Linked DNA regions of Homo sapiens: all the other regions are linked to region 1. The links are contacts of gene promoters, found by promoter capture Hi-C in human tissues and cell types (Jung and others, 2019). All regions are on one chromosome and are shown on one strand. Each heading gives the region's core, a stretch centred on a gene start or on the middle of the fragment in contact. The rest is flanking DNA. Distances are from core to core; before and after follow the strand shown. Region 1 holds the start of POLE3 (DNA polymerase epsilon 3, accessory subunit). Region 2 has its middle 47 kb from the start of SLC46A2. Region 3 has its middle 140 kb from the start of ZNF618.

Region 1 (5,085 bases), core at 1,938-4,437:
TGAGACAATAAAGAATGGGCCTTAGTAAAGGTACATTCTGGTAAATGATGAGCTGCAAAGCCGGAATCTAAGATGTCTACCACGGTGAGCACTGGGAGTTTATCTAAGAAGGCAGACCAGAAGAAAACATGTTAACCTGCTGCCTGGAGAAAGGGAGCCACATACATAAATACGTTAAGGACCTCGTGAGGGAGAGGACAGAAGCTGGCTAATTCACCTTCAGCATCCAGGGGAGTTTTGCAGGATGAGCCGAGGATTCGAGGATGGCCCCTCTCAATGCGGCGGATAGTTGCCCAGCATTGTGGGTGCTGACAAACAGCCAAGCCACAGGTGGTTTCGTCCCACTGGCTCTCATCTGGCAAGTCCATAGCTAGAAATGGTTTAGGCCAAAGGCCAACCCTGCAGCATTCTAGTGCTCTGGAAAATCAACAGCTACATAATTAGGGAGTATTATACATTAGCCATACAGTCCAGATGTTAATTTGAACTCACAGTATAAAATATTTCTATTGAACCTATATAGGTAAATGATGGCCACAAAATAATTAAAGATTGGATAACAAGCAAGTATGAAAATAGCTCAGCATAAAGTAGAATGGCAAGAGTTTGAGAGCAGGACTTCAGGTCTCCTAATTGGCTATTTAATAGCTGAGTGACCTGGGACTTAACCAGTCTGAGCCTGTTGCCTCCACTGTAAAATGAGGATAAGCTTATTTCACAGGGTCATTATAAAAATTAGTTAATGGATATTAAAAGCCTGGCATATTGTTCCAAATAAATATTTGCATCCTTTCCTTTTCCCCTTCGTTAGTCATCAGGGAGAAGATGCCACCATCTCCAAAAAGCATTATCAAATTATGACCAAAGTAGTCACAGAAGTGTCTTAGAAGGCCCAAACTTCTGGAAGACATGTTTCATTTTTCAATGTGCTTCAGTTCCCATGCAGGCAGATAAAATACCCACCAGCAATGAATGTGTTTGCTCAAATAGCAAATCACTAGACACTGCTAGTTGCATCAGAGGCCATTAGCTTTTCATTCATTGGCCATATGGCCTTTGACAAGGGTCTTCACACCTCTCTCTCAAGTAGGGGGAGGGGTCCTGACTTGGTGTCTCAGGTCTGTAACCACAGCACTTTGGTAGGCCAAGATGAGTTACCCCCTCTCCACAAAAAATAATAAATAACATAAGCAGAAGGCAGGGAATCCCTAAGTAGGACTGCAGAAGCATTAAATGAGATAATGTACTTTTATTCATGGGAGGTGTTCAATAAATATTATCATCTTTTCCTTTCTAGAGGTGTTTTAGGCAATCACTAACTACCACCTTATTCCTAAGAACTTTTTAAGGACAGTGTCCATTTCTTTCTTTTATTCAACACATTTATTGATTACTAAATATGTGAGGGGACCTGCTTTGGACATGAACAGTAATAAACAAACTCCCTGTTCTAAACAGTTTCATAATTTAGATCAAAGATAAACTATCAGCCTGGGATTGCACCTGGCCTATTACTTGTTTTGTTTGGCTAGCACTTTGAATCAATTTTAAATTTGAATCAATTTTAAAATTGAAATAGCCCACAATGTCCTTTTAGGGACCAAAATACTTGACAACACTGAGCCCAATTCCAGTTGAAGAGCAACTGACTAGCGCTGAGCAGCCCTGATGGTTTCAGCCAGGTCTGTTCTATCCAAGCGGAGTTCCCCCACCAGACCTTATGGTCTCTAATTGAAACACTTTCAGTTGCCATTTATCATAGCATTTGCTCTTTTGTTTTAAAATATTTCTCTATAATCAGGCTTCTATCGAAAGCAGGAAAACTACAGGGCGACTTGGGACTGCATGCTTGACGGGAAAAAAAAGCAGCATTAATTCTCAGTGGGAGGCTGGGCGCCGTGGCTCATGCCTGTAATCTCAGCACTTTGCAAGGCCGAGGGAGAATCACTTGAGCCCTGGAGTTCGAGACCAGCCTGGGCAACATGGTGAAACCCTGTCTCTACGAAAAATACAAAAAATTAGCTGGGTGTGATGGAACGCACCTGTAGCCCCAGCTATTTGGGGCTGAGGTGGGAGGACCACCTGAGCCAGGGAGGTCGAGGCTACAGTGAGCCGAGACCGTGCCGCTGCACTCCAGCCTGGGGGACGGAGTGAGACCCTGTCAAGAAATTTTAAAAATTAAAAAATAAATAAAATCAGTGGGAGTGAGAATTTCTACGAACTTAATATAAAAATAACTTAAAAACAACTTAAAACACCATTGCGCCGGGCGCGGTGACTGGCGCCTGTAATCCCTGCACTTTGGGAGACCGAGGCGGGCGGATCACGAGGTCAGGAGATCGAGACCATCTTGGCTAACACGGTGAAACCCTGTCTCTACTAAAAATACAAAAAAATTAGCCGGGCGTGGTGGCGGGCGTCTGTAGTCCCAGCTACTAAGGAGGCTGAGGTAGGAGAATGGCGTGAACCCGGGAGGCGGAGCTTGCAGTGAGCCGAAATCGGCGCCACTGCACTCCAACCTGGGCGACAGAGTGAGACTGTCTCAAAAAAAAAAAAAAAGAAACGCCATTGCAAAACCTTGAGAATGGTTTTAACTGGAAAAAATGTATGATGAACAATTTAACTGAAAAATAAATACAATTTTAACACGGTTTGTTTTTGAAAGCGAATGTGACGTTGCATTCTTCATACAGTGAAAAGGCTGCTTCTCGCCCTTTCGTTACCTGCCCAGTCCGAATTGACTCCTGAGACCTAATCAGGCGCATCTCTATATGGCCAGCATTATCCCTGGGCTGCCTAAATAGTTCGCGTTAAACACAAACAACAACAATAAAATCTAAATAACACTCAGTCTTAGTACCATTATTACAAAAGCGTGAGGGGCGAAAAGATTAAAAATGAACATCAACTTCGGTAGAGATGGAAAAAGACTGCCCACTCCATTCCAGGAAAGAAAAAAGAAAGTGGGAGAATCTGATCACGACGGGCTGAGGTCCTGTGAGAGCAAAGCAGATTCCAAACCGCTTAGGGTTGCTAAATCAAGTGGTAAAACGTGGCCCCTTGCGGCGCGGTGAGATTAACGGACCCGGCGGGCCCAGAGCCTGCCTCGGGTCCTAAAGGGATCCGCCCCGCCGAGTCAGCCACGCCTTCGTCTCCCACGCGCTGCGCCCGGCCGCGCCGTCACCCAGCAGCGGCGCAGGGCACCATGGGAAACGGACGGAAGCTCCATTGAGCCAAATAAGTTGGTGAGAAGGTTCCCGACGCGGCGATGGCGAGAAGCAGAGAAATGGACCTGGGGAGGGGCGTGCGGGGTGCGGTAGGGTTGGATGGAAGCCTTGGCGGGCCAAAACCACTGCGGCTTCAAAATCCGGATGCGCCGGTATTTGAGGCGGAGGCGGGGCTGTGGGGGGAGGAGGGAGGCTATGGCGCTCAGAGCACTGTGGGACACTGTAGGCCACGTGGGGCGGAACGGAAACCTCGCAGGGTCAGACCGTAGCGACGCGGGAAGTCCGGACGCAGTAGCTCCCTGAAGCGGAGGCGAAGGGGAGTTTAAGCCCCAGCGGCGGCAATGGCGGAGAGGCCCGAGGACCTAAACCTGCCCAATGCCGTGATCACCAGGATCATCAAGGAGGCGGTGAGCAGCTCGGGGGGGGCGGACGAACGGGCAGGAGGGAAGCAGGTGCTGGAACGGCAGCTTTGCTCACCCCCGGTCTCCTCGCAGCTCCCGGACGGTGTCAACATCTCCAAGGAGGCCCGGAGCGCCATCTCCCGCGCCGCCAGCGTCTTCGTGCTGTACGCCACATCCTGGTGAGCGGGACAGAGGCATAAGGGAGGCGCGGGGATACCTGGCTGGGAGTTGCTGGCTGGGAGCCTACAAACCCCAACGATTGTGTTCTCCCTCGGTGGGGACATGTTCACAGTCCTCTGCCAGTTTTTACAAGTTCTGAAGCAAAATAACACAACAAAATCACTTTGCTTTAGCTTTTTTGTGCAGAGAAGGGAAGGACTTATCCCTGTCACACCAAAATCCATACATGTAAGAGGCAGGCTTTCCCGTTCCACCTCTGGGTGCTCCTTTTCCCACTCACGCCTTACAAACAAGAGGGAGTCTGACAGCCTTTCTCTTCTCTCAGTGCTAACAACTTTGCAATGAAAGGAAAGCGGAAGACGCTGAATGCCAGTGATGTGCTCTCAGCCATGGAAGAGATGGAGTTCCAGCGGTTCGTTACCCCATTGAAAGAAGCTCTGGAAGGTAACGAGCCTCTTGTCTTCTAAACCACATAGAAGATGGTCATCCTGTGTGACCTGTTCACCAGGCCCTGAGCCTTCTCAGCGCGGGTCCCTTTAAGTCCAGTAAGCCAGCACTTGATGTGACTCGACCCAGTTCGGTGGGCACCACCTCAGATCTGTTTTGTAATGCTGAGCAAGTTATTTTTCCTTCTCTGCCTCCGTTTTTGTTTTTGTCTTGCTTTTCTTGTTTTTGTTTTTTTTTTTTTTTTTTTGAGACGGAGTCTTGCTCTGTCACCCAAGCTGGAGTGCAGTGATGGGATCTCAGCTCACCGCAGTCTCCTCCTCCTGGGTTCAAGCAATTCTCCTGCCTCAGCCTCCCGAGTAGCTGGGACTACAGGCGCACGCCACCACGTGCGGCTCATTTTTTATTTTTGTAGAGACGGGGTTTCACCATATTGGCCAGGCTGGTCTTGAACTCCTGACCTCAGGTGATCCGCCCGTCTCAGCCTCCCAAAGTGCTGGGATTACAGGCGTGAGCCACCGCGCCCATCTGCCTCCGTTTTTCCAATTGTACAATGTAATTAGCTCCTGCAGTCCGTCTGGCTCACTTTCAGCTCTGTCTCCTAACCCCTTGTTCCGTCCTTACAGCATATAGGCGGGAGCAGAAAGGCAAGAAGGAGGCCTCAGAGCAAAAGAAGAAGGACAAAGACAAAAAAACAGACTCGGAAGAGCAAGACAAGAGCAGGGATGAGGACAATGATGAAGACGAAGAAAGGCTGGAAGAAGAAGAACAGAATGAAGAGGAAGAAGTAGACAACTGAAAAGGGCGGGAGACTGTGGCACCTTGGAAGGTAC
Region 2 (5,085 bases), core at 1,635-4,134, 470 kb after region 1:
GGCTGAGTTAGCAAAGCAGAGAAAGCTGGAAGTGCAGCAGCCAAGGGGAAGGGAAAGCTAAGAAGTACAGAGAATTCCAGCACAGCACTCTGCAGAGCCTCCAGCCCAGGAGAGAACCAGGGCAAAGGGGACATCTGCATGGATGGGCCAGGAATGCACTTAAGCCCTGCTTCTGCTGCAAGCCTAGACCAGAGATGGCCTAGACTGACACCAGCATGGGAATAGAGATGGTGAGAAGTGACAAGTTTCTGCATATATTGAGATACAGCCAACAGGATTTCAAAATGAAGGAATGACATGTTAGATTTCTGGCCCAAGCAACAGAAAAAAGTGAACATTAGTTGAAAACTAAGAGTTGCAGTTTTTTTGGAAAGATCGAGTTCAGATTTAGACGTTAAGTTTGAAGTGACTATTGGACAGCCAAGTGACAGTGGTAAGCCGTTATCTTTATTATTCTGGTCAGGAAGCTAGTCTGTCCTCTGCCCCAGAGAGACAGCATCTCTACCCTCCCTGCTGGTTTGCCATACAAGAGTCCTTAGTAAGCTGGTCCAGGACATAAGTCATCACAAGATATGTAGAAACGCCTTTGAGGATTGCCCTGCAATAGCATCATTCTCTTGTTTCTATAGGGTCCTGGCTTCTGGCAGATTTTTTTCCATGAGCATGCCATTCAACCAGTATGACTAATATGGCCAACATGAGCCAAGACAAAAATTCTAGTTTGTACTCTAAGCACCAGAATTAGACCAACCTGTAATATTGAGCTTAGCTATAACCCCCAGGGTTCCAGCTGAACAGATTTCAAATCATCAACATCTACCTTAGAAAGCCAAGTAGCTTGCTCCTTAAGTTTCTGTATTAACCCAAAGCATTAACCCAGGTGGAACAAGATGTATTAGCAATTGCACAGACTGCACCTTGGCACACAAGGAAGAGGTCTAGGGTGAGTCACAACCATAACAATCCTGGCCAGTGAATTAGGCTGGGCTGCTCTGTCAGGACCCAGGTAGTGTTTCCCTAAACACTTCCAGGTCTCCTGTGACCACCACTAGGGTCTAAGTCAATTGTTTTAGGAAAGAGGCAAACTGATGTCCAGCTTGATGTACAGCTTAAGTAGAAGCTACAGTGATGTGGAACAGAGCATCCCTGGACACAGCGTTTATTTTGCCTTACCCAAAGTGAGATCTATACCACTTAGCATAGGTTGACAGTGGCTCCAGCATAGACTCCCAGCCAGCTGGTAAGCCTGAAAATTCCCGGTTCCATCTACTCAGGGGGTCTGCCTGAGGAGAGTCAGTCTAGATTGCTGATAATGCCAGCTGGGTTGCATTTATCCACTTCACAAAATAGGTCAACTGTCTGGCTGAGAATGGCAGTCCCAGCAGTCAGATTGCTGTGGTTTGAGGGACATGTCATGGAGTTTCCTTCTGTATCAAAACTTCAGGGCAGTTCTGAGAGCAGGGGTCATTGTTCAATGACCCAACGTTCATTGTTCAACATGAACTTCAATGTTCCCAGTGTTTATCAAAGGTAAGTGCCACTTTGTGGATGAAGCCATCACGACCAACAAATGCATCATCTAGAGGATGGGGCAAGACAGACGTTTAAACAGTCAGCTGTCTGGCTGAGGATGGCAGACCCAGCAGTCAGATTGCTATAGTTTGAGAGACATGCCATGAGTTTTCCTTTCTGTACCAAGACTCTAGCACAGTTCTGAGAGGGGTATCACTAATGCCCCTCTTTCTTTCTCACCTCCTAGGGTGTAAGACAGGTCACCTCAGCAGATGCTGGCTTGTTTGTTGCTCTTCCATCATCTCCACAAAATTGATGTCCCATTCCAGGAGCTACAACTCCAGCTATTATCCAACCATTCCCTGCTCACACCCAGACCTTCTGTAGATCAGGTGAAAGGGATAGGACACTAAGATTTAACAGGTTTGAGTCCCCAAGGCCTCCTTTTTGGCTTAGGGAAAATAAGCTCATAAATAACCTGAGGAAGAATCTATGGAGAAACAGTCTTAGAAGGGGGTCAGAGCTGATAAAGTCAATCTTCCAGGCAGGGAAAAGGGAACTACCTTTTGTGATATTGCATGAGCTTGTGGCAGGAGTCAGAAGTTTGGTGTGCAACAGTAGCCTCTGCATCAAAACACAGTTCAGTTCAATCAGCAGCTTGATTCTAGTTAGTTTCAGAACCAGCCTTTGCCATGGGTATCTGAGGGAGTGAGCCAGATAGTTTCCAGTTTGAGAGGACTATTTGATCTGTTTCTTCCACTTAGAACATGAACTGGCAAACAGGCCATTAACAGCCCAGCAGTTTGAATTCTGCTCTGAGTAGGGCAACCACATTCACTCTTAGCTCTGCAGGGCTGGCTCTGAGGCTGAGGACTTGCATCAGCCCAGTGGACACTGAGGTTTCAACTCAGCCAGACCCTCACTGAGGCAGGCTCAGGCAAGTACAAAGGAGGGCATCTTGGGCCAGTGGCTTTTCCTCCCCAGTAGCAGAGTAGGTAGAATGCAGTTTCTCCATAGGAATTACAGCTACTTTTCCGCATAAAGCCAAGATACCACTGGGCAAAGACTGTTTCGTTCTTGGCTATGTCACGGCTATTTCTAAGCAAGGCTTTTGGGGTGCTTTCTACCTTGTTAGTCTTTGAGTGCAAACTGACCCATCCCAAAATGATAATTTCAGGACTAAGTCACAAAGCCTCTAGAGATGAGGTGTTTCATTTCAATGGGAACTCAAGAAGCCAAGAGCTACTTTCCAAAAGAGGTCTACCTGGGTAGCCCTGTCAGAGGGGCCACAACTCCAGGACACCAATGGCACCTCCAGGTGGGAGGCTGACTCCCTTTGCCAGAGGCCCCAGTTGACAAAAGTCAGACCTGTTCTGTTTCCAATGTCCAAGGAGTCCAATAAGGCATTGTAACTTACACCAGTAAGCCAGGCCCATTACTGTCAGTCTCTAAACAGCTGCTCATGGCTCAACCAGTTTCGTTCACCCAACACCCTGTGTCAGCTTTAGTGACTCCTTGACCTTCCTTCTCCCCACTAGGAAGAAAGCAAATGACTAAAAGCACTATTGGGGCTGCTTGTTTCAATCCTAGTCTCAACCCCTTAGTCTCATTAACAGGACAGTGAAGACTTACCCTCACACTTGGGCAGCAGCGTTCACTACCAGACACAGGGTCTCAAGGGACTTGCTTCTCATCTCCCCTGACCCAGCCTGCAAAGGATCTTTGTCCTTTCTCTTGCAGAAATCCAGGTTTGTGTCCCATTCTCATCACCAAAACTTAAGAACCATCAAGAGTCAAGATTTTACCCTATTTTCAAGCTAACAAGTTATCCTGCCACAGTTTTATAGATGCCGAGACAGGAAACCCCTCGTCAGAGAAAAAACGACTGACTTACTGCCTGGTAGGTGGCACAAGCTTCGTGTTTGAATCCATTTCCCCCACCCCCAGCCTCCCTTGTGCAAGTCTCATCGCAATGAGGCGCAGCCTTGAGTAGGGTAGCTCTGGCACAGCTGAGGGGATTTGAAGCTTAGAGAACCCCAATCCCCGATCATTCAAAGGAGCTGCTAGTATGTCTGATTTGACACCTATCAAGATAGACTTCCAAGAATATTCAGGAAGACAACCTAGTTTTCAATGACTTAATCTAATTCTGGTAAGATGAGTTGTCCCTGCAATTAAGGGACATTGCCCTCCTATTCCTTGTGCTCCATCTCCCAAATCTTGCTGTGTTCTCGGACACAGACCCTCAGGCTGGGTGGCTAAAATCCAGAACTCGACTTGACCACCAGCAGCTGTCATGCTGTTCTGACAGGACTGACTTCCTGCATAGGTAATTATTTTCTGATGGTTTAACTCTGCCTTGCTCAATGCTGGGAGTGGGACCAAGTTTATACAACAAATGGAGAAAAGAATTATCTGTTCTACTCTCCTAGATGTTTCCCTTCCCCAGCCTCTAATGGCAAGAACCTGGGATCCTACCTTGTTCTGACAGGACTGTTCTTTTCCCATCCCTTCAACATGAAGATTTTGCCTCAGTCTTCAGAGTCCTAGTCCTCACAGGTATTAATTTCCTCAAAAACAGATATGAAGCCTTTGAAGTCAGGGGTATGTCAGGAAAACCTGGTTTGATGAGAGAAGAAACCAGAGCACCATAGGGCTAGGATACAGGGTTAGCAAAAGTGGATTTGGTTGTTTGGTTATGTAAAATAAATAAATAAATAAATAACCTGACATTTTAATTGGGGTCTAGGCTCAAGCCTGTGTTTCATCCATTTTTCTTGAAAAGCTCTCAAAAGATCAAAGTTGTGGTAGAGTTTGAAGACACTTAGGATTTGGAAGAAACATAGGCTTTTGTCACCATTACCAATTCCACCATAACAGTTTAAGTTCCAGGTACAGTTGTCACTCCAAGATGGTTTTTCCTGAAAACAACCTATACATGTTGAGTGACTAAGGTTCAATGACATTCATAACAGACCCACCCACTATGAAGTATCTTTAAGTCTCCTACCAAAGACTAACCTCATTCTCGAGGCATGTAAACCCCATATCCCAAGATAGTGAAGCTTATCAAGTGCCTATTTAACAGTACGCAGTCATACTTCATCTTATTATACTAACTCTTTGGAGATGTCCTTAGTCCTTTTGTCTTTTAGAGCTGCTGGTCATCTGAACTTGCTGGTTCCCTCCAGCCATTCTCCTCTGCATTTGGTGGGCAAATCTGGGTCCTGCCCAGCCAAGGCTCCTGCTTCCCTGGAATCCTCTGGATAGGAAGGGAATTGAGCGCAGCTGGAGTTGCTAGCTATGCCCGGGAGGTTACCTCCACGTGTTTTAATTTATGCCCCAGGATCCTACACACAGGAGAGGAGATAGCCTTAGCACAACGACTCTCAACTGGGGTGGGGAGGTAGGTCTTGTACTGCAAGGGGACATTTGGCAATGTGTGAAGACATTTTTGGCTGTCCTAACTAGGAGGTGGGTGCTACTGGTATCTGGCAGGTAAAAGCAAGGGATGCTGCTGAACACCCTACATTGCACAGGACAGCCCTGCCCCAAACAGAATCATCCAGCTCA
Region 3 (5,085 bases), core at 1,790-4,289, 320 kb before region 1:
AAAGGAAGAAAGAGAGGAGAGAAAGAGAGAAAAAGAGAGAGAGGAGAGAGAGAGAGAGAAAGAAAGAGAGAGAAAGAGAGAGAGAGAGAGAAAGAAAGAGAAAAGAAAAGAAAGATGCCCAGTTTATATTTTTGCAAAGGCAAAGGATGCAAAGTCATGGAAATTGAGTCACAGACAGTATAGGAATGGGTAACAGATACACACATATGGGATGAGGCTGCGGTATGCTCTGAAAAGCCTTCTTTTCAAAGACAAGAACTCTTAGAGTTCAGTGGCCCAGCTCAGTAGAAATGACACTGATTGGGGTCTCATCCGAGCCCTGACTACTGCCCTGTGGGACCTTGGAAAAAGCCAGATTAAGGAGTAGACTGCTGGACAACTGCCCAAGGCACAAATTCACCAGGTGAGCTGAAACACTGCTAGAATAAATTGGTGGAATCGATGGTTCCACTTCCACCAAAGTAGACAGCGCCCTCCAGTGGAAGATAAAAATACAGCGTTTCTCCCAAGCATAGCCCTCTGTTCTTCAGGAGGCACCAGAAGTTCTGTAAAGATGTGTTCCATGGAGCGGGGCTGTTTACTGGGAACAAGTGACTTCTTTCATTATCTAAATATAAAATCATTTAATATATCTGCCAAAAAGCTGTACAGTTTAGCAAGTTGCAAAAGAAAACTATATAGAGTATAAAGACCACAGAAAAGTGGGAAATGCTGGGCAGGCCTTTTTCTTGACGTAAACACCACCACTTCTGCCCAAGATTCATTAGTAAGAGAATCCCTTTTTCTGTGCAATTTCTATTAACAGCCAGTCTCTCTCTATCCTCTTGAAATACATGTTGGCATGGTGGCTCACGCCTGTAATCCCAGCACTTTGGGAGGCCAAGGCGGGTGGATCACAAGCTCAAGAGATCGAGGCTATCCTGGCCAACATGGTGAAACTCTGTATCTACTAAAAATACAAAGATTAGCGGGGCGTGGTGGCGGGCACCTGTAGTCCCGGCTACTCGGGAGGCTGAGGCAGGAGAATTGCTTGAACCCAGGAGGTGGAGGTTGTGGTGAGCCGAGATTGGGCCACTGCACTCCAGCCTGGTGACAGAGCGAGACTCCATCCCCCCCGCAAAAAAAAATACAATAAAATTAAAAAAAAAGAAAGAAATACATCCTGGGCAAATATTTAAGGCTATTTATTTGAAGGGTTACGAACTAAACTACCAGCCTGGACCACCCATGGTCCTTAATCCCACATTGCCCTTAATCTCTTCACCACCCTTTTCTTCCCTCCTCAGGAGTAGTAGGAGGCTCAACGGAGAAAGTGGATTTCAAAAAAATGCAACAAAGTGCCTCAAACTATAAACCCAGCAAGGGACTCTTCAGAGGCAGCAGCGTTGACAAGGTCCCCAGGTAGCATCACTGCTTCCTGCTCTGACGTGAAACGTCCTGGTAAAGAGATTGACTGAACATGAGACGAGGACAAAGAGGCAACATATGTGGACCAGAACCCGGGCCCTTTATACCAGACTCTGCTGTGAGTCTTTTAATGAACAGACATTTTGCTAGCTGCTGCTGGGAAAGTAGAGATGTTTGATTGTAATGCTTCCTTCAAAGAGCTTATAAGCTACTACAGATAGTGACTAATGACCAAGGCTAGATAGATTTGGTTCCAAAATTCTCTGCCATCTAATACCTGGATGACATCTCAGTGACCCTAGCAAGTCACAGCCCTTCTCGCAGTGCTGATTTCCTCGCCTATAACATGGGCAAAGCAATTCCTCTCATTAGGGATTGTTATGGCAGAAATTTCGTTCCTCTTGCCTCCCGTTTCCCCATGGACAGAACGCAAAAAGAGTAACACTCCTGGCCTCTTGCCCCGCCCCTTCCCCTCTACCCCTCAGAGGGGAAGTGAATGAGTTACCTGATGTGGGGCCACAGCCTTGGGACCACAGTTCTTGGTGGGTAGAGCTAAGTTATTAAAAGACTGTAAGACTAGGGATGTTTCCTCTTTTCATCCCTTTTCTCCATACCAGGGCTAGGCAGGAATCCTCAGTAGATGAGTGACTCTGAAGCCCAAACTTCCCCCAGCAGGCCTTTCCAAGTTCTCTATGGGGGACCCTGTATGGGATCCTGTATGGGTGCAAAGAGGGTTATGAGCCAGCCCTTTGACCACAAATAGGAAGTCATGCTCTCCAATCAGTTTATCAATAAAAAGCTAACATTGATGTCCATTCGCCAGTCTCCTGGATTTTATTTCCCAATTGATCCTCATTTCAGAAGGGGAGAGAGAAGTGATTTTTCGCCGAGCCTCTTAAAGTCTAACAAGGGGCCAGGTGCAGTGACTCACACCTGTAATGTCAGAGCTCAGGTAAGAATCGCGCTTGAGGCCAGGAGGTGGAGACCAGCCTGGGTGACAGAGTGAAACCCTGTCTCTTTAAAAAATAAAAAATAAAAAAATAATAATAAAAGTCTCATAAAGGCATGGTGAGAAGAAAATGAGATATGTATATGTATATAAATTACCTGTTTCATAAGAGGCATCAATAAAAGATGATTATAATCATGTTGGCCCAGTTAGTAACCCAGACAGAGACTTTTTATCTAGGCCCGGGAAAGACTGAAGTTGTCAGTAGAGGCCTCCATGAGGAAATCAAGCATAAATTGGGCCTGGAGAAATGAGGAAGGAAATGGGAGGGCATTTCAGACAGGAAGATGTACATGGGTAAAGGTATGGATTTCCTCAACATTTCTTGCCATTTGTCCATCTTTGACGTCACCCTCTCCCTTATTGGGGTGGTTAAGTCTTCCTTAAGAAGGAAGGGTGACATCACCCTCTCCCTTGTTGGAGTGGTTAAGTCTTCATCTTCATTCCTTCTGGGTGGTCCTTCTGTTCTCACAGCTCTCATCCACATACAGCCATTCTCCAATGTCAGCCTTCCCCTTTTCTCTCATAATAACAGAGGCTTCCCAGAATAAAAGCTATACTCCCCCACCTTCCTTGCAGCTGGGTTTTGTGCCCATGTGAGTCAGTTCTGGCTAATGGGGAGTGCGTGCCAGTGATGCGTATAACTTCCAGGCCATGCCTTTGAAAGAGAGGACACCTGCCCTTCCTGCTTGCATGTCCTTTCCGTGTTGGAGGACTCATTTCTGCCCTTCTTCCCAGAAGCCTTTCCTCATAACAGTGACAAATGAAAGCCACCTTGGATCATGTGGATAAAGAATACATCCCAGACCAACACAGAAGGAATCTGCATTATAGGCAGCTTTGTAAGGCAGAGCCTTCCTAATAACTAGGTGAGAAACAAATTAACTAGTATTTTATGTGAACTACTGTTATTTGGTCTCTGTCATATGCTGCCAGAATTATCCTAGCCAATACTAGCTGCTTATCACTGTTATAGGAGTGAAGGCTTCCTGGAAGAGGGAAGGGCAGGGATGTACCTCCAGGTATACAGCACAGCATAGATACAGGTATAGAAGCTGGATGAATTCATAGACCTGCAAGCAGCTGGGTATGTCTGGGGCCAAGTCTAGGGTGGAAGGAGAGTGGTGAAAGAGACTGGCAGGGTCCAGACCAGACAGGGTGTTTTATGGAAGTGACAGAATTTGGACTTTATCCTGCCTTAACCACTCCAACAAGGGAGAGGGTGACGTCAAAGATGGACAAATGGCAAGAAACGTTGAGGAAATCCATACCTTTACCCATGTACGTCTTCCTGTCTGAAATGGCCTCCCATTTCCTTCCTCATGGAAAGTCATGGAAGTGTTTGGGACATGTGAATGGACTGTGTAAAACAGCGGTCCCCAACCTTTTTGGGACCAGGAACCAGTTTTGTGGAAGATAATTTTTCCATGGACAGGGGGTTGGGGAGATGATTTGGGGATGAAATTGTTCCACCTCAGATCATCAGGCATTAGATTCTCATAAGGAGTCTACAACCTAGCTCCCTCGCACACACAGTTCACAATAGGGTCCAAGCTCCTGTGAGAAGCTAATAACACTGCTGATCTGACAGGAGGCAGAGCTCAGACAATAATGCTCGCTCGCCCACTGCCCACTGCTCGCTGCCTGCTGTGTGGCCCAATTCCAAATAGGCCACAGACCAGTTCCAGTCCAGGTCCCGGGGGTTGTGGACCCCTGATCTAAAACACAGAGTTAAACTGTGCTCTATAAAGACAATGCTGGCCTCAGTATTCACAGGGTTGGAAGAGCCAGATTAGGGATAGCTTATGAGAACCTAGCTGGTCTCCTGATTCCCAGGCTGGTGTCCCCCATCTGCCCCTGCAGGCACATCCCACACTCTTCTCCAGGATCTCACCCCTTAACTTAAGAGAACTCACACTCAAGAGAATGTTTGATTTTATGTTTGTTAGAAAGAGGTTTCTCTGGAACTACGTCTATCCCCACCTCTAGATCTCAACATTTAAAATAACTGAACTTTGGTACCCTTCAGAGCTGCGTCCTTAGCCAATTAATATTAGTTCCATTTTTGGAGAACTGAGTTGATCCAAAGTCAATGGGACCATGTTGAGAAAAAGTCAATAGGAAAATTTCAAATAAAGCCACTAATTGTCTCCTCATGGTGAGGGCTTCAACAGGATGGTGAGATTTGTTCTTAAATATCCAGGTGCCATAGGAGTTGCCTGGTCCTCAGGCCTGCACTCAGAAACAACTTCGCTGAAGGACGTCAAGCCCGCGTAGACCACACTATGAGCCCTCAAGTTATTTTACTTCCCTTCTCATCTCCTAGAGAACAGAAATGGTCTTTGCTCACTTCTACATCCTCTCAATGCCTAACACCAGTTATACCTTGTAAAAATTCAATAAAGCTTTGTCAAATTGGATTGGGCTCATCTATTCCTTACACTTCTAGTTAGTGAAATTTTACTCAGTTGGACGTCACAGTTTTTCATCAAGGTTCATAGGTATGCATGTAAGTATTGTAATTAGATGAAATCATGGTTTTTCTAGGATTTACTTCTTTCCTCCACAGAGCCACCTCTTCACCCTCATAAAATGTGGTTGACAAGAGAAAAGGAAAATTTCCTTGTTATGGTGATTGGTGCCTTATTTCTACGTTTTCCTAGAATGCA

The links. Contacts are between HindIII fragments. The study calls those that stand out against the background at their distance.
Region 2: a contact is called between a fragment that was not itself captured here and the fragment with the promoter of POLE3 in region 1, in 1 of the 25 tissues and cell types used here (thymus).
Region 3: a fragment that was not itself captured here is called in contact with the fragment with the promoter of POLE3 in region 1 in 1 of the 25 tissues and cell types used here (liver).

The regions. Positions count from the first base shown.
Region 1 is chr9:113,408,777-113,413,861 of GRCh38, reverse strand. It overlaps POLE3 (DNA polymerase epsilon 3, accessory subunit), which reads left to right and starts at 3,187. Exons shown (of 5, transcript NM_017443.5): 1 at 3,187-3,245; 2 at 3,454-3,634; 3 at 3,722-3,807; 4 at 4,134-4,252; 5 at 4,879-5,085. The coding sequence starts at 3,569. The coding sequence ends at 5,051. It overlaps C9orf43 (chromosome 9 open reading frame 43), which reads right to left and starts at 3,115. Exons shown (of 14, transcript NM_001278629.2): 1 at 2,861-3,115; 2 at 218-417; 3 at 1-103. The coding sequence starts at 368. RefSeq lists enhancers at 1,588-2,487, 3,106-3,295, 3,536-3,815, 3,388-4,287, 3,190-4,389. The HindIII fragment of the contact is 6,520 bases long and covers 1-5,085 here.
Region 2 is chr9:112,935,455-112,940,539 of GRCh38, reverse strand. No RefSeq gene overlaps it. Among named protein-coding and RNA genes, the nearest start is that of SLC46A2, 47 kb to the right of the region's middle. The HindIII fragment of the contact is 6,082 bases long and covers 1-5,085 here.
Region 3 is chr9:113,733,002-113,738,086 of GRCh38, reverse strand. No RefSeq gene overlaps it. Among named protein-coding and RNA genes, the nearest start is that of ZNF618, 140 kb to the left of the region's middle. The HindIII fragment of the contact is 4,468 bases long and covers 806-5,085 here.